7 separate regions of the Homo sapiens genome follow, and regions 1, 2, 3, 5, 6 and 7 are each linked to region 4. The links are contacts of gene promoters, found by promoter capture Hi-C in blood cells and fetal thymus (Javierre and others, 2016). All regions are on one chromosome and are shown on one strand. Each heading gives the region's core, a stretch centred on a gene start or on the middle of the fragment in contact. The rest is flanking DNA. Distances are from core to core; before and after follow the strand shown. Region 1 has its middle 65 kb from the start of RUFY1. Region 2 has its middle 8.3 kb from the start of MSANTD5. Region 3 holds the start of LOC124901149 (a long non-coding RNA gene). Region 4 holds the start of GRM6 (glutamate metabotropic receptor 6). Region 5 has its middle 53 kb from the start of ADAMTS2. Region 6 has its middle 92 kb from the start of RUFY1. Region 7 has its middle 10 kb from the start of MSANTD5.

Region 1 (3,140 bases), core at 421-2,920, 490 kb after region 4:
TGATTCACGAATCAGGCAGCTCCAAACCAGAGGTGGTTGGAGGGTTGCACTGAGGACGCAGAGGCACAGATGTTTTAGGGTAAATGTGGAAGAGATGCTGAGAAAATATTTAATTGGTTATAATTATAAGTTGCCTTATTTGGTCTATCCCACTGGAAAGTCCTTAGTTATATAATGAGAAGTTTTTTGGCTGATTCTGACTAGTTGAGCTTAAGTTCTGTTTCTCTTTAACATAGACATTTATAAGAAATAGCTCAAGTTAAGTTTCACTTATGTTTGCAAATCAAACAAGGTGAAGGTCGCATATAGGCCTAACTGGCTTTGTCTGCTCAAGGATTCTTCAGACCTGGTCTTCATTTTAATTGATTCTAACAAACTCAACACTAGCCTAGGTGTTCTGTAAGGCATTTTGTAGATGCAAATCACGTCTGCAGTCAGCCAATTTTAAGAAAAGGAGATTATCCTTGGTAACCTGGGTCAGCCTCATCCAATAGGATGAAAGGCCTTGAGCAGAACTGAGGCTTCCCTGAGGAAGGAGAAACCCTGTCTGGACTGCAGCGTCGGCGCCTGCCAGAGAGTTCCCGCCTGCCCTTCCAGTGCCCTGGCCTACGGATTCCTGACTTGCCCTGACAGCCCCACCTTTGGGGAAGCCAGTTCCTTGCAATGCATCTCTCTCTCTCTGTATATATGGATATACATACTGCTTCTGTTTCTGTGGTAGAGCCCTGACCAATACACTACCTAATAAAATCAATTAAATTCAAACTCATCATTCTCTTTCCCACTATCCTACACCAACACACCCCCCGAGGCGCCCTCCCAGTCCTCATCCTGGTGAATGGCATGGTCTTCCTTGCTGCTGCCCAGGCCAGAAGCTGCGGAGTCTGGCCAGGCTCCTCCCTCTCTCTCCTCCTATACCCAGGCATTGGGCCAGCCCAGGGGTTTTGAGAATTCGCACCCACCCTCCACTCACACCTCCACTGTTTGCCCTCTGGCTTTCCACTGCAGACGTCTCACTAGATTCTCTGTCTCCATGACAGTCTCATCTCCCCTGCCCCAGCCACCAGCCAGGGTGGTCTCTGAGAATCCCATCTGTCCTGTTTAAAGGCCTCTTCTGTGGGCAACATGGAGTCCACACCCCCATGCCGGCCGGCCCTCTCATTCCAGCCGCTGCCCCAGGACCAGGGCATTGGGCCTCCATCTACCTACTGGCTGGCCGCTTGCTTTCCTGAATGCCCAGCAAACCCCAGCCACTGGGGACATGGGCTAGGTCTCTCAGTTCCTACTTTGGAACCTAAAACCTAGTAAGTACTTCAAAACTGTTTTCCTGCAGTGCGATTGAATGGACTTACCCCTCCCTCTCCGTCTCCTCTAACTGCTCATAATACAGAACCCAAGAAATGTACTTAATTAGTTTGGGGGTTACCAACAGGAATTTCACTGTCTTTGTTCATGATTTAATGGTAGGTGATTAGCGCAAAAAAGATGTTGCCCCTTAAGAAAACGAAATCTGCTTTTGTCTCGTGTGTGGTCTTCAAGTGAGTTTTATTTATTTTTATTTTTTTTATTTTTTTGAGATGGAGTCTCGCTCTGTCACTCAGGCTGGAGTGCAGTGGCGTGATCACCGCTCACTGCAAGCCCCACCTCCCAGGTTCACGCCATTCTCCTGCCTCTGCCTCCCGAGTAGCTGGGACTACAGGCGCCCGCCACCACGCCCAGCTAATTTTTTGTATTTTTAGTAGAGACGGGGTTTCACCCTGTTAGCCAGGCTGGTCTTGATCTCCTGACCTCGTGATCCGCCCGCCTCAGCCTCCCACAGTGCTGGGATTACAGGCGTGAGACCCCGCGCCCGGCCCAGTGAGTTTTATTTTTTGTTTCCCGGTGGTGCTTGATACTAAAATATGTTTCACTCCGCTGTTGATCCTTCAACAAGTCTAGAAGAACAGGTGGCCCCAGGGCCATTTCTTTAGGGTCCTAAGCAGATAGGAAGAGCTTTGCTCTGTCTCGTGTTCCAGCGGACCCAACATTCATGTCTCTATTGGATGGAAACTGCTGGAACATCTTCATTTCTGGAGACAGAGCCTGAGTCCTTGGCCCCAGGCCTTTCTCTCCATCCCTGTCAAGCAATTCTTTTAAGTGTTAGCTCCTCGCATAAAGCCTGTGGTCTGCCAGAACCCACCCTGAGGGCCGAGCCCCATGCCTGGCTTGCCCAGTACCCCAGGCTGGGAGCTCAGCAGCCACAGCCTACAACTTGGAGCAGGAAGCACTTGCTGAAAAGGCTCAACGTGAACTTGGACCTGACTTTGACTTCTTCTCTGTTTGAGAGCTTTTGTTTCCCCCACTAGATTCTGGATTCCTAATAACCCTGTGATGAGTCCTCCCTGGAGCGAAGACAGTGAGTAAGCCAGCAGTTGTGTGCTGCAGGAGGCAACTCTGACCCACACAGTTTTCTTGAGTTCATGAATCAAAGATGCCAGACCCTGAGCCCCAAGGGCCGGGTGCCAATGGCCCTGTGAAGGTCATCCTGTGGCCCTTGCAGGCGGAGCCTGTCTTTCCTCTGTGCAAAGCGTGCTCTTGCTGCCCACCGTGGGAAGCTGGGCCCCTGAGTTCCAGCCTCCCTTGCAGAGATGTGCGCTTTCCCGGTACTTTTCCGCCCTGGCATTCTGCATGACTGCCAGGCAATCGCTCGGAGATAAAGTGTACCCTTTATAAGCCCAGAACTTTAAGTTTCTCTCACACAGAGATCAGACTCCTAAAGGGAGTAACTGAAGACATTCTGAAAGCTCCAGGAACAGAGGAGCAGAAGGAGGCCGCCTGCCTCCTGCCAACAGCCAGTCAGGTGAGCTGCGAGCCACCTGGCTGTGTCCCCGGCTGCCCTCCGGGGCCCACTGCCATGGAAACCGCACACAGCATCGCTGCTTGAGGAGCCAGACGAACACAGCTGGCAGGGCCACTGGGTGGGCAGAAGGCAGCTGAGCAGAGCCTCGGGAAGCTGGGCTTCTCTTCTCAGCCCTGCCGCCCCCTCTTCACCGTGTCTGGAACAAGGTATTGCCCCACTAATGGTTTGCTCCCTTGAAAGGGATAAACAATCTCACGCTTCGATTCGAGGATACGGAGCCCTGGTTCTGAGGCACCAGCTG
Region 2 (3,260 bases), core at 292-2,791, 310 kb before region 4:
AATGAAAAACTAAAGAGTATTATTTCTAGTAAAATAAAAACTGTTAAAATTTGGGTCTATTTTCAGTTTGATACTATTTTCTGTTTATGTAACTTAAATCACTTTAGTTTTCAGAAAATATATCCAGAAAAAAATTATTTTCTTCAATTTATTGAGGCATAATTGACAGAAAATTGTATCTATTTAAGGTGTACAACTGATGATTTCACATATGTTAACACTTTAAAATGATTACCCTGGCCAGCCCTGGTGGCTCACACCTGTAATCCCGGCACTTTGGGAGGCCACAGCGGGAGGATTACTTGAGGCCAGGAGTTTGAGATCAGCCTGGGCAACACAGCGAAACCCCATCTCTCCAAAAAAATACAAAAAATTAGCCAGGTGTGGTGGCATGTGCCTTTAATCCCAGCTACTACTCAGGAAGCTGAGATGGGAGAATTGCTTGAACCTGGGAGGCAGAAGTTGCAGTTAGCTGAGATGGTGCCACTGCACTCCAGCGTGGGTGACAAAATGAGACTCTAAGTAAATAAATAATAAAATAAAGTTATTACCATGATAAAGTTAATTAGCATGCTGCATTAGTCTGTTTCGCATGGCTGTAAAGGAATACCTGAGGATGGGTAATTTATACAGAAAACAGGTTATTTGGCCCACAGTTCTGCAGCCTGCACTAACACGGCACCAGTAACTGCTGGGAGTCCGGGGAGGCCTCAGGAAGGCTTTACTGTTGGTGGAAGGCAAAAAGGGAGCAGGCATGTCACATGGCAAGAGAGGAGGCAAGAGAGAGATGCCAGGCCCTTTTAAACAATCAGATCTCTTGGTAACTAATAGAGTAAGAACTCACTCATGACCTCAAGGACAGCACCAAGCCATTAATGAGGGATCCACGCCCATGACCCAAACACCTACTAGCCCTTACCTTCAACACTGGGGATTGCATTTCACATTATGAGATTTGGAGGCAAATATCCAAACCACAGCACTTACCCAATACTTCCCACACTTACCCCCTCCCTTTTTCGGTGAGAACACTTCAGATCTACTCTCTTAGCAAGCTTCAGTATAAAATATAGTATTATTAACTATGCTCACCGTGCTGTACATTAGATCTTTAGAATTCCTTCATCTTATAACTGAAAGTTTGTACACTTTGATCAAGATCTCTCCATTTCCTCCCCCACCTCCCTTCCCGGCAACCACCAGGTTGCTCTGCTCTCTGCTTCTATGAGTTGGAAATGTTTCTTCTTTTTAGATTCCATATATAAGTGATACCATACAGTATTTGTCTGTCTCTGTCACACTTCACTGAGTATAGTGCCCTCTAGGTTCATTTATGTTGTTGATAGGCAGGACTTCTTTTTTAAAGTGGCTGAATAATATTCCGCTGTGTGTGTATGTGTGTCAAGTTTTCTTTTTATCCATTCACCTGTCAGTGGACACTTAGATTGTTTCCGTATCTTTGCTACTGTGAATAGTGCTGCAATGAACGTGAGATGCAGATCTCTCTTCCAGATCCTGGATACATACCCAGAAGTGGCACTGTTGAATTATGTGGTAGTTCTATTTTTAATTTTTTTGAGTAAACTCCATACTGTTTTCCAGTGAAATAAGACAGTCAAAGAGGTTTTTCCATATCTTGGTACCAGGAGCTTTAACTCAGGTCCAACTCACCGTGGGCCCAGCGGGTCCCGGAACCCATTCTCTGGTCATTTCCCGGGTCCAGATGTGTAGTTGGAACAGACGTGTTCAGCAGCTAGCAGAGTTTCCACACGGGTTCCCTGAGCTATAAAGTGAGGGCAATTGTGATGGGAAAGGACAAATGGAAGGCGTTACAGCCATCTCTACCTAGAAAAATACTAAAACAAAAAACACACCAATACTGCCTTCCTGGAGGAATGATATAGATGAGTGCCATCATCAAAGACTTGAAGTATGGAGGGGTGGTGATTCCTACCCCACATCCTTGTCCAACTCTCCTGGCCTGTGCAGAAGACAGATGAATCCTGGAGAATGATGGTGGATTCCCAGAAGCTTAACCAAGTGATAACTCTAATTGCAGTTGCTGTACCAGATGCTGTTTCATTGCTTGAGCAAATTAACACATATCCTGGTACATGGTATGTAACTATTGATCTGACACACACCTTTTTCTCCATCCCTGTCCAGAAGGCCCACCTGAAGCAGTTTGCCTTCAGCTGGCCAGGGACACCTTCACTGTCCTCCCTCAGTTTAGATCAACTCTCCAGCCCCATGTCACAGTGTGAACCCAGGAGGCAGAGCTTGCAGTGAGCCGAGATCGCGCCACTGCACTCCAGCCTGGGTGACAGAGCGAGACTGCGTCTCAAAAAAAGGTATCGATTTTAAAACTTGATTTTTTATATATGTATATATTGTGCAATGAGCACCATAGTCAAGTCAGTTAACATATTTATCGCCTCACATAGTTAACCTTTGTGTGTGTGTGTAAGATGAGAACACTTAAGATCTACCCTCTAAACAAATTTCAGGTATAAAATACAATAGTGTTAACTATAGTCACCATGCTGTACATTCCATCTCCAGAACTTACTCATCTTGAGTAACCGGAAATTTACACTCATGACCAGCATCCCCCCATCCCCCCACTTCTCCCTCCCTCCAGCCCTGGAAACCACCATTCTACTCTCTTCTATGAGTCTGACTATTTTAGATTCCACATATAAGTGAGAGCATGCAGTATTTATCTTCCTGTGGCTAGCTTATTTCACTTGCAAATGGACTTTATGAAGCTAGTATTATCCTGATACCAAAACCAGAAAAAGACAGTACAACAAAACTGTAAAACAGCATCTTTCTTGAATACTGATGCAGAAATCATTAATAAAACATTACTAATACATCAATAATAGATGAAAAAATTATATGATGGACAATTGATGTACTCCAGAGATATGAGGCTGGTTCAATGTTTGAAAAATCAATCAAAGAACAAAGTAGGAAGAATTAATTTATATGATTTAATAACTTATACAGCTATAGTAAACAAGGGTGTGTGATATTAGCAGAGTGCAGACCAATGGAACAAGGTAGAGAACCCATGACAAGAACCACACAAATATGCCCACCTAATTTGTCACAAAAATGCAAAAGAAATTCAACGCAGAAAAGATAGCCTCTTCAGAGAAGAGCAACTGGACATTCACAGGCACATACACACAAAATGAACCTTAACCTAAACTTCACAAACCTTAATCACAATTTAACTCAAATGTACCAGGGAC
Region 3 (3,087 bases), core at 550-3,049, 380 kb after region 4:
CTCCAAGGACTGTAGCCCCGCAGAGGCCTCCCTTTCAATGCTCAGCTCAGAGCTGAGCTCTCTGGCCCCCTGGCAACCAGCCCCTGCTCCCCAGGCCCCAGGCCTGCCCAGACACAGGAGCCGCAGGGCCACACAGATGGCACAGCCCTTTGGTAAAAATCAATGCCATTGCCAGTGAGCAGCTGGGCCAAGCTTCCCAGAGTGCTACGGTATCCCAGCAACAACACGCACATCCCCTTGTCTGCAAGCTCCTGAGAAGATACTGCTCCCAGACACCACAGCCCAGCTAGTCCCAGCTTGACTCAGGAGCCACTGAACCTGCAGCCTCCACCCAGGCTGGTATGGGCTGGGCAGGCCTCCTGGGCCAGAGACAGACCCCTGTGGGGGAGGCTGAGAATGGGATCCAGGTTAAAGACCCCACCCACCACCACAGGCCCCCAGGTCTGCTGCCCTCCTAGTTAATCCTCTTAGATCAGGGAAAACTGCAGGGAGCCTGTCTGCCATGTGAGCAGTTATGATTTGACAGGAGTCTGTAAGCAGATGCATGTGCAGGATCCTTCATGGAGATGCCAAGTAGTTGAACCAGGAAAGCATCATCCTCATTCACCTAGATCAGCTACAGAAGTGGGCACTGAACCCAGACCTGGGCAAGAGCCCAGTGTATCCGCTCCCTGTGTCATCAGCTTGTGTGGTCAGGGTGCCCAATTCCAGAGCCAGGGATCCTGGCGGGCTGTGAGAACTTCCTTGAGCCCCTTGCCAGTGTGGGGCTGCCAGCCCTGGGCCCCGGGGAAGGGGAGCAGGAGGCCGGAGCCCAGCTCCAGACTCCCGGAGACCGCACAGCTCCAGCCCTTCCCGAGGCTCTGGGCTCACGTATGTTCAGGTCCCCTATTTCAGTTTCCTTGGCCTTGTTTGCTCCGTTGCTAGTGCTCTTTACTCCCCGACTTTTAACTTTTCAGAAATCTTTGTAGCTCCTTTCCTGTTTTATCTCGCCCATTGATTGAGGAAGCTGTTGGCTCATTTCATCTGGCATATTTTTCTTGTTTTACATTTACGGTGTGTTGTTTTGTTTCCATCACATTGTATTTTGAAGAGTCTTCTCTTTCTATTTGGCCTTGTCTGTGGGTGGCAGCGTTTTTGGAGGAAGGGCCCAGGTTTTGGAGCTGGGCAGACCCTGACTCAGCTATAGCTCTGCCAGGCTGGTAATTTTTTGGCCTCTTACAGTCACTTTAAGTCTCTGAGCCTCAGTTTCCTCCTATTAAAAATAGGAATAGTCATACCTGTGGGAAGGTTCAGGCCTATTCGGTATTGTTCATTTAAAGCGCCTGGCACAGGGCCTGTCCATTATGGGGGCACCGTCATTGCTAGCACATGTCAACGCCGGCACCAGGAGCGTGGGCTTCTGCTGTGTCCCAAATTGTGAGACCAGTGGTCTTCTTTGTCTTCCCGTCCCACACCTGAACAGCTGTGAGGAGGGTCTCGACCACATGCCAGGAACCTCAGTGCTCCCCCTCGATAAGGGACAGAGCTGTCCACACCACCCCTCGCCCTCTTTGGGACGCTGCGCACTCTCGCAGTGGTAGGGCGGAGAGCTGTCAATCAAATGCAGTGCCTCACCTCCTGCGGCAGGATTGGACGTTCGGCCCAAGCCGGACCAATCAGCATCCTTCCCCAGTGCTTTCCGACTGGACCTAAGGCTTGAGGCACATTTCCTCTTGGAGGAGCGGCTCTGAAGCGAGGGTCTGCCACTGTCGGGAGCCTAGAGGGGAAGAAGCTGGCCTGGGCCAGGCCCCAGAAGTGGACGAGAGAGGGTCTGGACATGCTGCGCCTACTGCCGGGGCCCCTTGGACGCAGCAACAGTTTGGTTCTAAGAGCCCGTCAGCTGGTCTGAGCCAGCTTCTGACAGTTGCAGCCAAGAATCCTAATTCAAACGCCCACGGCTCTGCCAGGCCGCCAAGATGGGTTCCCATAACCTGAGCTCCCTCTCCAATTCAGACAGACTCTGGAGGGCTCCCCAGGGAACACATGATTGAGCCCACTTACCAAGCCGGCAGGCTTCTCTCTCCAGGAAGGCACCAAATTTTCATGGACCAGCTCACAAGCTGGAGCCTGGGGTGGCTCCACACCCCAAGCAGGCAGGCTCCTTCACACAGGAGGACACCCTGGCAAGGGGTGCCTGAGAGCAGGGCCCCACAGGCCTGGGTGAGTAGGACATCTAGGTGGCTCACGAGGACGCTGCATATTCTGAGTCTCAATCCCTAGGAAGGAGACCAGGGTGTGTTCTGGGAGCTGGGAACAGGGCAGGGCTGTGGGTGTTGGGGTACGAGGTCTGCACCCAGCCAATCAGCGTCGGGGTCCAGGGTGTGTGCCCTGTCCCACTGCAAGAGAGGGGCCGAGGCAGGGAGCCAGGACACAGGGTACAGAAGGCATGCAGTCAGATGGATGAGGCCAGCAGGGACAAAGGGAGACACACCAGGCCCAGGGCTGCGGCAGGCCCATCAAGGGACTCTCTGCCCCCTCAGAAGTGCCCTCACGCTGTTCGGCAGCCAGGCATAGGTGGAGAGTCATGGTCCAGTCAGGCGGCCCCGACTTCAGGTCAGAGGGCACGGAGGACGTCCGGGCAGAGGACTTGGAGGACGTCAGGGCAGAGGACTTGGAGGACGTCAGGGCAGAGAGCACAGAGTACGTCAGGGCAGAGAGCAAGGAGGACGTCAGGGCAGAGGACTCAGAGGGCGTTGGGGCAGAGGGCACAGAGGACGTCGGTGCAGAGGACTCAGAGGACGTCAGGGCAGAGGGCACGGAGGACGTTGGGGCAGAGGACTTGGAGGACGTCAGGGCAGAAGGCACAGAGGACGTCGGGACAGAGGGCACGGAGGACGTCGGGGCAGAGGACTCAGAGGACATCAGGGCAGAGAGCTCAGAGGACATCGGGGCAGAGAGCACAGAGGACGTCGGGGCAGAGGGCACGGAGGACGTCGGGGCAGAGGACTCAGAGGACATTGGGGCAGAGAGCACGCAGGACGTCAGGGCAGAGGACTCAGAGGACGTCGGGGCAGAGGGCACGGAGGACGTTGGGGCAGAGGGCACAGA
Region 4 (3,190 bases), core at 312-2,811:
ACACGCTGCCCCTCACGGGACAGTTCCCTACATTTGAGGACAGAGCAGGGCCAGCCCGGGCACCTGCGCAGGGCAGGGTGCAGGAGACCAGAGCTCAGAAGGGAACGCCCCGCCCTGCTCTCAGATGCCCCTTGAGGGAGAGTTCAAGGCATTTTGAAAATAAATTTAAATGATCAAAAAAGAGAAAGACCAGACCTTTCAGGCCTATCCATCCCCCATAGCAGCCCAGGGACACGCCCCAGTTGCTGCTCTGGAAGAAGGGCCCGGGTTCCAAACAAAACTCAAAGTTGCAATATCACTCGAGCGCTCCGCAGGCCCAGGGGGCAGGAGCACCTTGTATGGTTGCAGGGGTGTGCCCAGAACAAGGGCACCCGAGCAGGCTGGCAAATGGGGGCTGAAGTCAGGCCGCCCTCCCCAGCCAACCGGCCAGAGGCGTAGGTGGCACCCGCCCGGGAAGGGGCGCCCTCGCGGGGCGGGGTAGACATGGGCGGCTGGAGTGTTTGGGTGGAGCCGATTCAGGCCTGCGTCGGGCTCAACTGACAGGGCTTCTTTGACGCTGTGTGAATTCGAGTGATTAAAACGGAGACTCTTTCAGAAGAAGTAAAGGAAGGAGACTTGGGCCACCCCAGGGCGAGGACGGGAGAGGGACGCTGGACACCGAGCCCGGCCCCGCGGCCCTCACCGCAAACAGGCGCAGCACGTTGGCGACCATGATGGAGACGGAGCTGGCCGAGGCGCCCACGACGGCCACGACGCGCTCGGGGGGCGCGGGGCGCAGCGGAGGGACGCCTCCCGGGCAGCGCACGCCCACCTCGTCGCCGTCGCCGCGGCCGCGGATCAGCGCCTGCACGAAGCTCAGCGCCTGCTCCAGCGCGTAGGTGTCCCGCGAGCAGGTGTCCAGCAGCCGCGCGCCCAGGCGCACGCCGGGCAGCAGCTCGGGGTCGGCGTTGACGCGGTCCAGCGCGTACAGCATGGCCTCCAGCCGGTGCACGCCCTGCTCCTTCTTCAGCTGCCCGCACGCCCGGCCCGCCGCGCCCCGCGCGTGCACCGGGAACAGGCCGCCCAGCGTCAGGCCGCCCGCCAGGCGCACAGAGCCCGCCGCGCGCGCCAGGCCCGCCTGCGCCAGCCACGCCAGCGGCAGCAGCGCCACGAGCAGCGGCTCCCGGGCTCTCCGGGGCCGCGCCATCGGCTCGTCTAGCGGGCTGCGGGGAGACAGAGGGGCGGGGAGCGCTCTGAGGGCGGGGGAAGGAGAGCGCGGGCTCGGGGCGCGGGGAGGGACACCGGGGTCCTGGGGAGAAGGCGCTCGGGGCGCGCCTTCCACTTCGGCTCTGGGGAGTTAGCTCAGCCGGCCTGCCCGGGCCTCCGTCTCGCTCTTACAAGCGCCGAACCCTGTCGCCCGGGGTCCCGCCCGACCACTGCCTCCACCCCTCCAGCCCTGCCGCTTCCCGACAGCTTGGCCCCTCTTCCTCGGGGTCCATCCCCAGCGCACACCCAGGCTCCCGCCCCAAGCCAGTCACCTGCGCCAGCCGCTGTCGGTTCAGGACAAGTCTGTGACAGATGCGGCCGAGGCCCTGAGCGAGAGAGGATTTAAGGATTCTAGGGAGGGATGAGAGACCGCTCCGAGGGTGGAGACCCCTCCTGAGTGTGGGGGGTGGCGGTGCTGGCTCTCCCCGCATCTCCTTCCCCTCCCTCTCCCAATCTCTGGGTCTGTTTTCCTGTTTTCTTGTCTTTGGTTTGCGTCTGACTCAGACTGTCTGGCTGTCTCTGGGGCTGTGTCTGACACAATCTCTGTCCATCTCTATCTCAGTCTTCTTCTGCCTCTAGGTCTCTGTTTCTCAGTCTCTGTCCCTGGCTTTCTGCCTCTGTCCTCTTCTTGGAAATCTTTTCTGTCTCTGTCCCTTCCTGTCTCTCCCTGCGGTTATCTCTCTCTGTCCCTGACCCCTTTTCTGTCTCTCTGTCTCTGTCCTGGCCACCAGTGCTCCTGACTGCAGTTGCCTAAGGTATTCCCCAGCTTTCTCCTTGCAGAACCCTGCAGGGGGCAGGGGCTGCCTGAGCTGGGAGGGCCTAAGGAAGAGGAGGAAGAGCGAGGGGCAGGAAGGGGCCAGGAGGGAGAAGCCTTTAGTATTAGCGAACTTACAACACCCTGCAGTCGAGAAACAGCCCTCGAGGAGTGAGTTGAGTTGCCCAAGTGCATGCAGCTGGCATGTGTGGGCATCAGGATTCACACCCAGAATGGCATGAAACAAACAGCCCACACTGCCTTGGATGGAGGGAGGGGAGGGGCCGGCTTTCCTCGCAGCTCCCACTCCCGCCTATTGCTTGGGAGGATGGAACCCCGCGGGGTCGTTCTGGCTCCGTATAAAGTCTCCTCGGGCTCTGGGTCTGAGGCAGCCACTCGAGCTGCGGTGCTCACTGTGCCAACGCTCTCTGCACCTAACTCCCCATCTCATCGTGGAGGCCAAGGTGAGGGGGCTTGGCCAAAAGATGCTTTTATCATCCCCCCATCCGAGGCCCAGGATTTGGCTCTCTGATGCCAAGAGAGCAAAGGGCGTCCTGGAGACAGGTGGTGAGCTCCTAGCCACAGGGATTAGCAGGCTCCTCGTCCGAGGGCCTGAGCCGGCTTGGGCTCCATTAGACAGGCTGGATTAGGGTGGCTGCGGGGATTTGGACAAGGCTGGTAGAGGGAGCAAGCAAGAAACATGCCACCTTTCTCTCTTCCCCCGCCTCTCCCAGGCCCCGATAGTTTCTACTGCCAGAACCACTTCTCCTGGTGGAAGCCCAGAGTCAACAGGCTGGGCCTAGCCCTGCTCCTATCCATTTTAACAGTGGGAAGGGTGGGGAGCTTGGCTGGTGCCAGGCCCTGAGCCTGACATTGCGAAGGACTGCATAAACTGGGTTTGGGAGGTGGATGGGCCCTTCCCTGTTCAGGACGAGCCTGACAGCTCCCAGCACACAGCAGCCTCCTGCTTGGCATGACCAAGGCAGCCACTGCCCCTGTCTGGAGGACAGACCATCAGGAAGCGGGGGCAGCAGCTGGGGGACTGGCAGGGGGTCCTCGCCGTGTAGGAGGGAGGCATGCACACCTGTGAGCAGGGGGCTGGAGGAGAAGGGGAGGGGGGTGGCAGGATTTTAGACCTGATGGAGATTTGGCTCTTGGAGGGGTGGAGGATGGCATAGCTGCTGGGGCATT
Region 5 (2,983 bases), core at 242-2,741, 400 kb after region 4:
CACACAAAACTTTCACAACTCAACAGTAAGAAGACAAACAACTCAATTTTTTTTAATGGGCAAAATATTTGAACCGACATTCCATGAAAAAAGATACATGAATGGCCAATAAGGACATGAAAAGATGTTCAACATGTTCATCAGTGAAATTCAAGTGAAAACAATGAAGAATTATCACCACATACCGACCAGGATGGCTAAAATTTAAAAGACTGAAAATACCAAATATTGGAGAGGATATACAGCAATTGATACTGTCATACAATGCGTGGAGTGGAAAATGGTGCAAACATTTCAAGAAACAGTTTGACAATTTCTTAAGAAATTGAACACACCCCCTCTATGAGCCAGCAATCTACCCCTAGGTATTTAACCAAGGAAAATGAAAGCATGTGTTCATAAAGATACATGCACAAGAATTTTCATATGAGCTTTATTCATAATAGCCAAAAACTGGAAATAATACAAATGTCTGTCATCATTTAAACAGATAAATTGTGGCATTTTTATACAGAGGAATAATTATAAGCAATAAAAAAATGTGGCATGCAACCCAGATGACAGACATTATGTTGAGTGACAGAAGCCAGGCACAAAGAGTACTCTAGGGTCCATTTCCATGACGTTCTGAGTCAGGGGGCACTGAGCTGGAGTGGTCGATGTCCCAGGAATCAGTTCTGCTGCCAGGGAGGAGAATAGACTGGGAAGTGGCACAGGTAGCTTCCTGGATGAGGGAGGTTTCTTTATCTTGATTGAGGTGGTGGTTACATAAGTGTGTATGTTTATAGTGTATATATATATATATATATATATATATATATATATATATATATATATATATATATATATGGTTTGGCTATGTCCCCACCCAAATTTCAACTTGAATTGTATCTCCCAGAATTCCCACGTATTGTACGAGGGACCCAGGGGGAGGTATGTGAATCATGGGGGCTGGTCTTTCCTGTGCTATTCTTGTGATAGTGAATAAGCCTCATGAGATCTGTTGGGTTTATCAAGGGTTTCTGCTTTTTGCTTCTTCCTCATTTTCTCTTGCCACCACGATGTAAGAAGTGCCTTTCACCTCCCCCCATGATTCTGAGGCCTCCCCAGCCATGTAGAACTATAAGTCCAATTAAACAACTTTTACTTCCCAGTCTCAGGTATGTCTTTATCAGCAGCATGAAAACAGACTAATTATATATATATATATATATGTGTGTGTGTGTGTGTGTGTGTGTGTGTGTGTATACATATATAATAACTCACTGAACTGTGCACTTAAAAATCAATGCATTTTATTACATGTAAACTATATCCTAATATACTTGATTTTTAAAAACATCATAGGCCAGGTGCAGTGGCTTACGCCTGTAATCCCAGCACTTTGGGAGGCCGAGGTGGGCGGATCACAAGGTCAGGAGATAGATACCATCCTGGCTAACATGGTGAAACCCTGTCTGTACTAAAAATACAAAAAAAAAAAAAAAAAACCTAGCCAGGCATGGTGGCGGGTGCCTGTAGTCCCAGCAACTCGGGAGGCTAAGGCAGGAGAATGGCTTGAACCTGGGAGGTGGAGCTTGCAGTGAGCCAAGATGGTGCCACTGCACTCCAGCCTGGGCAACACAGTGAGACTCTGTCTCAAAAAAAAAAAAAAGGCCAGGAGTGGTGGCTCATGCCTGTAATCCCAGCACTTTGGGAGGCCGAGGCAGGCAGATCACAAGGTCAGGAGATTGAGACCATCCTGGTTAACACAGTGAAACCCCGTTTCTACTAAAAACTTAGCCAGGCATGGTGGCGGGCACCTGTAGTCCCGGCTACTCAAGAGGCTGAGGCAGGAGAATGGCGTGAACCAGGAAGCAGAGCTTGCAGTGAGCCGAGATCACACCACTGCACTCCAGCCTGGGGGACAGAGCGAGACTCTGTCTCAAAAAAAAAAAAAAAAAAAAATCATATAGGCCAAATAAAGCATGTTTGTTGACTGAATGTGACTCACACACTACCAGTTTGCAAACTGAGCTAGAGAATCAAATGGGGTGAAGGTCAGTCCCCCAATCCTTCTGACCATGTACATGTGGGCCAGTTGCATTATGTGCTCTTAGGACAGACACTTTCATTTTTAAGGTTCTTTATTGGGGTGCAGGGATAAAGAAAAAAAGAAAGAGAAAGACAGAGAGAGGGAATGACAGAAGGAAGGAAGAAGGGAAGGGAAGGGAATGGAGGGAGACACCAATTACCATCTGCTCCAACTCCTTATTTGGTCCAAATGAAGGTGACTGGTGTGGCCTGCCACAGATGCAATAGGGTGACCCCCCCTCAGCCTCAGGCTTGGTACCTCAGGCTCCCAGGCTTGTGAGTCAAGCATCATCTGAACAAACAAGGCATGCTCCATGCAGCTCCATCTTATGCTGCTGTAGTGACAGAAATGGGGCCTGATATGGTTTGGCTGTGTCCCCACCCAAATCTCATCTTGAATTATAGTTCCCATAATCCCCACGTGTTGTGGGAGGGACATGGTCACAGGTAATTGAATCATGGGGGTGGTTTTCCCTGTGCCGTTCTCATGATAGTGAGTGAGTTCTCATGATATCTGATGATTTTATAAGCATCTGATATTTCCCCTGCTGGCACTTCTCTCTCCTGCCACCATGTAAAGAAGGACCTGTTTGCCTCCCTTTATACCATGATTGTAAGTTTCCAGAGGCCTCCCCAGCCATGCAGAACTGTGAGTCAATTAAACCTCTTTCCTTTATAAATTACCCAGTCTTGGGCAGTTCTTTATAGCAGCGTGAGAACAAACTAATACAGTAAATTGGTACTGGGAGTGGGGTGCAGCTGAAAAGATACCCGAAAATGTGGCATTGACTTTGGAACTGGGTAACAGGCAGAGGTTGGAACAGTTTGGAGGGCTCAGAAGAAGACAGAAAGATATGGGAAAGTGTGGAACTTCCTAGAGACTTGTTGAGTGGCTTTGACCAAAATGCTG
Region 6 (3,171 bases), core at 32-2,531, 460 kb after region 4:
TCCAGAACTGTGAGAAAATACATTCTTACTGTCTTCAGACGCGCAGTTTGCGGTCATTTGTTACGGCAGTCTTAGCACACTAATAAGGATCTCAGTTCTTCCCATGTTGGCTACAAGGTTAATTCGATCCTGATCAAAGTCCTAAAAAGGTTTGTTTGGGTTTGAGGTTTTGTGCTTTGACTTGTTGTTCAGTTGGTTGGTTGGTTTTTTGTTTGGTTTAAGATAGTGTTTTCTATTTTTTTCCTCTTGTTTTTGCTTTTTTGGAAGGGTAAGAGACTTAAATGTCAACGTATCAGAATGAAAACAGAGTTAGATCCAGGAAATTTCTGAAAAAGAGAAGTAACAGAGCAGGACCAGCACTCCCTTCCAGGGAGTGGCCCCGCTGCTGAGAGGGAGGGCCCGGGACAGAAGACGGAGTTCCAAAATAGGCTAAGTATAAACGGGGATTTAGTACACAACGGGGGAGGAATGTCAAATCAGTGGGCAAACATAGATCTTTCTTTTTTTTTTTTTTTTTTTTGAGATGGAGTCTCACCCAGGCTGGAGTGCAGTGGCACGATATTGGCTCACTGCAAGCTCCGCCTCCCGGGTTCACGCCATTCTCCTGCCTCAGCCTCCCGAGTAGCTGGGACTACAGGCGCTCGCCACCATGTCTGGCTACTTTTTTTGTATTTTTAGTAGAGGCGGGGTTTCACCATGTTAGCCAGGATGGTGTCAATCTCCTGACCTGGTGATCCGCCCACCTCGGCTTCCCAAAGTGCTGGGATTACAAGCGTGAGCCACTGCGCCTGGCCAAACATAGATCTTTCAATAAAGAGCATTGAGAAGACTACAAAGTTGATTGGTTAATGATTTATTATTATTACTATTATTATTATTTGAGGTGGAGTTTTGCTCTTGTCGCCCAGACTGGAGTGCAGTGGCACAATCTAGGATCACTGCAACCTCCACCTCCTGGGTTCAAGCAATTCTCCTGCCTCACCCTCCCAAGTAGCTGGGATTACAGGTGCGTGCCACCACGCCTGACTAATTGTTGTATTTTTAGTGGAGATGGAGTTTCACCATGTTGGCCAGGCTGTGCTCGATCTCTCGACCTCAGGTGATCCATCTGCCTTGGCCTCCCAAAGTGCTGGGATTACAGGCGTGAGCCACAGTGCCTGGCCTATTATTATTATTAATGCCAGGTCACAGCTATACTCCTTTCACTCAAAGTCCTGATGGATCAAATTTTTAAAACTAAATGATTCAGACCAGGCATGGTGGCTCACGCCTGTAATCCCAGCACTTTGGGAGGCCAAGGCAGGCAGATCACAAGGTCAGGAGATCGAGACCATCCTGGTTAACACAGTGAAACCCTGTCTCTACTAAAAATACAAAAAAATTAGCCGGGTGTGGTGGCGGGTGCCTGTAGTCCCCTCTACTTGGGAGGCTGAGGCAGGAGAATGGTGTGAACCCAGGAGGTGGAGCTTGCAGTGAGCCGAGATCACGCCACTGCACTCCAGCCTGGGTGACAGAGCAAGACTCCGTCTCAAAAAAAAAAAAAAAAAAAAAGCTAAATGATTCAGAGATGTCCAATTCATGATGAGGGACCATATTTGTATCATATCCTTCACTCCCCAAATAGCTAAGAAATGGCCAGATAATACATCACTTTCGAGGGAATAAGTTCCCCCAGCTGCATGGGGATATGAGAATCATGCTCTTGGTGAGCCATATATTTTGAGGATTTCTGGAAAACAGCAAATTATATCAAACTTATAAGAGAAACCAGAGCAGAGGAAGTTTCATGTTAGAGGGAGGATTCATTTTTCCCACCAAATCTCCTTGGTGCCTCTTGCAAAGGGGTTCTCGACATCCCAACATACCTGAGTCCCAGGGCGTGTGCCGCTCATTCTCGGAGATGAAACCCAATACTCTAATAAGGAGAAAAATGACTAATGGAATAACCTTTCTGTTCATCCCCCTTTTGCAAAAATCATCCTCCTCTTGCGAAGATTTGGGGAAAATGAATCAAATGGAAATTCCTCAAATTCAAAGGCTTTTTATTGGTGTAGACCAACATCCCTTGTATAATACAATACATAAACCTGTGTAAAACACACTGACTTACACTCTCCGCACCCCCAGGACCACTTGCCATGTTTGCTCGTGGTTTGTTCAAACAAAGAAAATAAACCCCCGGGGATGCGCCCACTACTCGGACACTCCACAGAGGGGAGAAACCTGGTCCACTGGGTTTCAGGCAAAGCCCAAGTTTCCTTCCCCTTCTCCTCCCCCTACGAAAATTCCTTTCCAACAGTCCTCAGGCTTTTTGTAAGCTGTCCTCCAAAGCCCTTCCCCAGCGAGGACTATGGGGCTGAAATGTAATCATTGTGCTGAAGCATTGCTGAGTTTTACCGAGTCCTGCTGGTGCCCCAGCCGCTGAGTGTGTCCTTGGAGCTGGTTCTAGAAGTTGTGATGGATTTTCACTTATCACTTCCCCGGCCCCTCTTGGGCAGCCTGCAGAAACAGAGACTGCCCCGTGGCGCCGCACAGAACACCTTGTCCTTGGCTGCACAGTGGGAGAGCATGCTGTATATTCTTGAGAAACAGGGAATCTGTGTGCAAGCCGGGACCTCCTCCTCCTTTCCCCAACAGCGTCAGGAGGCAGCCCCCATGGGCAGCGAACCAGGGAATAAACACTGTGGATTACCAATGGGGAAGGAGCCTGGACCAGGCAACCCAAATACATGCACCCCTTGCTATTGTTAAAGCACCGTTGAAGTCCTGTTTTATATCCACCAAATTAGCAAAGAATAAGAAAGTTCTGGCCAGGACACAATGAAATTGGCACACACAGGCACACAGGGCTGCTGAGCACGGGCCTTCTCCCCAGAAGGCATAGAAACCAGTAACTCTCCAGTTTTCCCTTGGCAAGCTCAGGTCGTCTCTGTCATTTGGAACCCAGGAGTTCTGACTAAACAAGGACAGTGCACAGAGATGCTTACAACACCTGTGCAAGATTAGAGACCACCTCGGCTTACAGCACAAGACTAGCTAAAAAAATGTTGACATGTCAGCACAACAGAATAATACGAAGACTAATAGCAAAATGGAAAAACAGGCCGGGTGCGGTAGCTCACACCTGTAATCCCAGCACTTTGGGAGGCCAAGGCGGGCGGATCACCTGAA
Region 7 (2,979 bases), core at 399-2,898, 290 kb before region 4:
CAAAGTGTTGAGCCATGTTGACAGTTTCCTCTCCCTTAGGTGAGACAGGAAGGATAGAGAGAATGGGGAATGTCCTTCCTCCAGCTAGCATAAGACTCTGGCAAGCTTTTTTTCCCTAGAGTGTCGGCTTTTATGGAGAAGACTCTGGGTGTATTTCACAATGATTCCCCTTCTTCTGCCACAGCCCTCAGGGGATATTTCTCAGATCATGACCTTGGGAATCTGCTGGGATTCCTGGAGCTAATGGCAGTGGCGGTATGCGGGACCCGTTATGACTATGGACCCAGAAGTTCCACATTCTCAGTTTAGTCCATATTCAACCTCCAGCAATTCATCAAAATTACCTGTTAGTTTTCCGACCAGTTTTGGCTCCAGTGGGCTCCAAGTAAACAGATCTCAGCTGTGTCTCTGGATACACCCGTCTCTCCAGATTTCACAGTTGTGACTTCAGTTCTCAGAAAGATAAAAGTCACTGCTTTTCAGCTTGACTAGCTTTTTCTTATAAGGATAGGGGTGACTACTTCCAAGCCGTTTGCATGTTGTAGTTGAAACTGGGGGTTCCAACAAATTTCTGAGTGCTAGAGAATGAAAGAGAGAATTGAAGAATGAAGAATAGAAGAATATCGAATGACAACAGAATCACAAAAGTCCTTTAACTGCTCAGTTTAAACAGTTTAAATGCCGAGGAAGGGAACAATTTCATGATGACTTCAGTGTCAATAGGATGGCTATCAGAGGTTGTCTGTGTAGCATCATGCAGAAACGCAGAATATGGATAGGACACCTTCTACAGCCTACTTCAGGCTTTGCTTTAATTTTGAATAACAATTGTTTGCACTTCTGGCGGGGCGCGGTGGCTCACTCCTGTAATCCCAGCACTTTGGGAGGCTGAGGCGGGTGGATCATGAGGTCAGGAGTTCGAGACCAGTCTGGCCAACATGGTGAAACCCCATCTCCACTAAAAATACAAAAAAAAAAAAAAAAAAAAAAAAAAAATTAGCCGGGCATGGTGGCAGGTGCCTGTAATCCCAGCTACTTGGGTGGCTGAGGCATGAAAATCGCTTGAACCCGGGAGGCGGAGGTTGCAGTGAGCCGAGATCTTACCATTACACTCCAGGCCAGGCGACAATGCGAGACCCCGTCTCAAAAAAAAAAAAAAAAATTGTTTGCACTTCTACACATCTACATAAATTTGTATTTGTATTATATCAACCAAAGGAATACAATTTGACTTATTAACTCAATTTAGTTTCTGCAAAAAGCTTCAATTTCCCAGGTCTCATCTAGAAGGGATAAGATAGCTTTATAAGCACAGGTTTTCAAAAGAAAAACATTGCAGAGGCAAAAAAAAAAAAAAAAAAAAAAAAAAAAAAATTCTCATTGTGATTATTTGCATCTGGGGTTATACTGTAAAAAGAGACATTTTAGATCTTTTATATAGTCTCTAATAGTAAACAGAAAGATTACATTTTTATTACTGCAGATTTTATCCTGGCACTTGAAAATTCGTTTGCAATTTTGGAAGCAGGAAATACTTTTGGTGTGTTTCCATTGGTCATTTGAGCTGAAAAGATTGAGTGTGGAAAGTCATTACAATTTCTGCTATGGTTGTTTTATTTTTATCTGAATTTCCTTTCATCGGAAAATTTGTTACTTTATCCGTTTCTTTAGCACTATTTGAGGAAATCATCTATCACTTAGGCTTAGCTGTTAGTATATCCTGCCTTATATCTGACTTTCCAATATGTTCAATACTGAATGAACAATTGTGTACTGTAGAAAGAGCTTCAAAACATCTTTTCTCTGATACCAAATATTTTAAAAATTAATCATGAAACTTATACTTGCATTTTGATTCAAATATACATAAATGAAAATAGGCAATAGGGTAGATCTCATATTAAGTATCCTTAACACAAAATATAAAATAAAAAATAAGTTAATAACAATAATTGAAAATACTAATTTCGATCATCTCACTCACAAGAGTGAAGCATAATTACCAATAAATTGAGGCTGAGCTATTGAAAGGTTGGAAGCTTACAAACTAACAATAAACTTGAACTTGATATGTGACACAGAAAAGTCGAACTTGATGCATGCCTGCAAGGGAGAACTGTGTTTGCAGTAACAGGATCCCTGAAGAAAGCCAGAGCTGATCTTATCCAAAATTTTAAGCAGCTCAGTGTCTGGGACTGGCGAATTTTCAGAGGCAGGGATGTTTATGGACTGTTAGATTTTCAAGCGTGTTAGTGTGGTCACTGGAATTAGACGGTTGTCGACTGGCTAACTTCCAGAAGCACGGTCACTGGAAGGAGGGACTTGCTGACCAACCGTGGTCTAGAAGCAGCACTCAAGTGGCATTCAGAAGCTGGAGGCTGTCAGGAAGTTGATTTCAGAAGCATGGCTGCTGGCAGCGAGGCCATCATTGATTTTTCAGACCACGTGTACTGATCCAAAGATCTAATTATTGGGGATTATTTTACAACTTAGGAATTTGGCCAAAAGAACAGTCTTTTCCTTTCTTTAATACGGAAAACAAGTACTTTTATTCTCACTTCCCCCTTTTGCCTTCCCTCAGTCAAACACATAGGATAAAACATAAGAGATGGTTCAGATCTTTATTTGTGGAGGTATGATTTCCAACTTGTATTGCCACTTAAGCGATTTAAGCGCCAATTACTGAAGCAGAACCGTAGCTCAAAGTGCTGATTTTTCATTAATGAGGGGAGAAACCCTGAATACATTTAAGGCATCCTAACAAAGTTAATACAGGATTCAGGACAAAATCATTAAATACAGGACGTTTGGCAACCCTACCTGTGAGTCAGCTTTCTCCTCACTTGCCACTCTCACCTATTTGCCTATGAAAACCATGCCTTATTTATTCTAATACATGATTATCTGTCTCCTGTTCTCCATCAATGCTGTCCCTGTTTGAGTTGGAACCCTCATTTACCTATTACTTGAATTTAAACA

Evidence for each region. The method cuts DNA at HindIII sites, captures the fragments that hold promoters and counts their contacts. A CHiCAGO score of 5 or more calls a contact.
Region 1: a contact is called between a fragment that was not itself captured here and the fragment with the promoter of GRM6 in region 4, in 1 of 17 cell types (endothelial precursors). The highest score is 5.5, in endothelial precursors.
Region 2: a contact is called between a fragment that was not itself captured here and the fragment with the promoter of GRM6 in region 4, in 4 of 17 cell types (megakaryocytes, erythroblasts, endothelial precursors and 1 more). The highest score is 6.3, in megakaryocytes.
Region 3: a contact is called between a fragment that was not itself captured here and the fragment with the promoter of GRM6 in region 4, in 1 of 17 cell types (endothelial precursors). The highest score is 5.9, in endothelial precursors.
Region 5: a contact is called between a fragment that was not itself captured here and the fragment with the promoter of GRM6 in region 4, in 1 of 17 cell types (endothelial precursors). The highest score is 5.1, in endothelial precursors.
Region 6: a contact is called between a fragment that was not itself captured here and the fragment with the promoter of GRM6 in region 4, in 1 of 17 cell types (endothelial precursors). The highest score is 7.9, in endothelial precursors.
Region 7: a contact is called between a fragment that was not itself captured here and the fragment with the promoter of GRM6 in region 4, in 7 of 17 cell types (erythroblasts, megakaryocytes, total CD8 T cells and 4 more). The highest score is 8.2, in erythroblasts.

What each region holds. Positions count from the first base shown.
Region 1 is chr5:179,483,814-179,486,953 of GRCh38, forward strand. No RefSeq gene overlaps it. Among named protein-coding and RNA genes, the nearest start is that of RUFY1, 65 kb to the right of the region's middle. The HindIII fragment of the contact is 5,936 bases long and covers 1-3,140 here.
Region 2 is chr5:178,687,822-178,691,081 of GRCh38, forward strand. No RefSeq gene overlaps it. Among named protein-coding and RNA genes, the nearest start is that of MSANTD5, 8.3 kb to the right of the region's middle. The HindIII fragment of the contact is 976 bases long and covers 1,054-2,029 here.
Region 3 is chr5:179,371,721-179,374,807 of GRCh38, forward strand. It overlaps LOC124901149 (a long non-coding RNA gene), which reads left to right and starts at 1,711. Exons shown (of 3, transcript XR_007059083.1): 1 at 1,711-2,199. The HindIII fragment of the contact is 3,219 bases long and covers 191-3,087 here.
Region 4 is chr5:178,993,759-178,996,948 of GRCh38, forward strand. It overlaps GRM6 (glutamate metabotropic receptor 6), which reads right to left and starts at 1,562. Exons shown (of 11, transcript NM_000843.4): 1 at 1,518-1,562; 2 at 683-1,202. The coding sequence starts at 1,186. The HindIII fragment of the contact is 9,329 bases long and covers 1-3,190 here.
Region 5 is chr5:179,396,700-179,399,682 of GRCh38, forward strand. No RefSeq gene overlaps it. Among named protein-coding and RNA genes, the nearest start is that of ADAMTS2, 53 kb to the left of the region's middle. The HindIII fragment of the contact is 9,996 bases long and covers 1-2,983 here.
Region 6 is chr5:179,457,430-179,460,600 of GRCh38, forward strand. No RefSeq gene overlaps it. Among named protein-coding and RNA genes, the nearest start is that of RUFY1, 92 kb to the right of the region's middle. The HindIII fragment of the contact is 7,244 bases long and covers 1-3,171 here.
Region 7 is chr5:178,706,595-178,709,573 of GRCh38, forward strand. It overlaps a transcript of MSANTD5 not described here. Among named protein-coding and RNA genes, the nearest start is that of MSANTD5, 10 kb to the left of the region's middle. The HindIII fragment of the contact is 777 bases long and covers 1,261-2,037 here.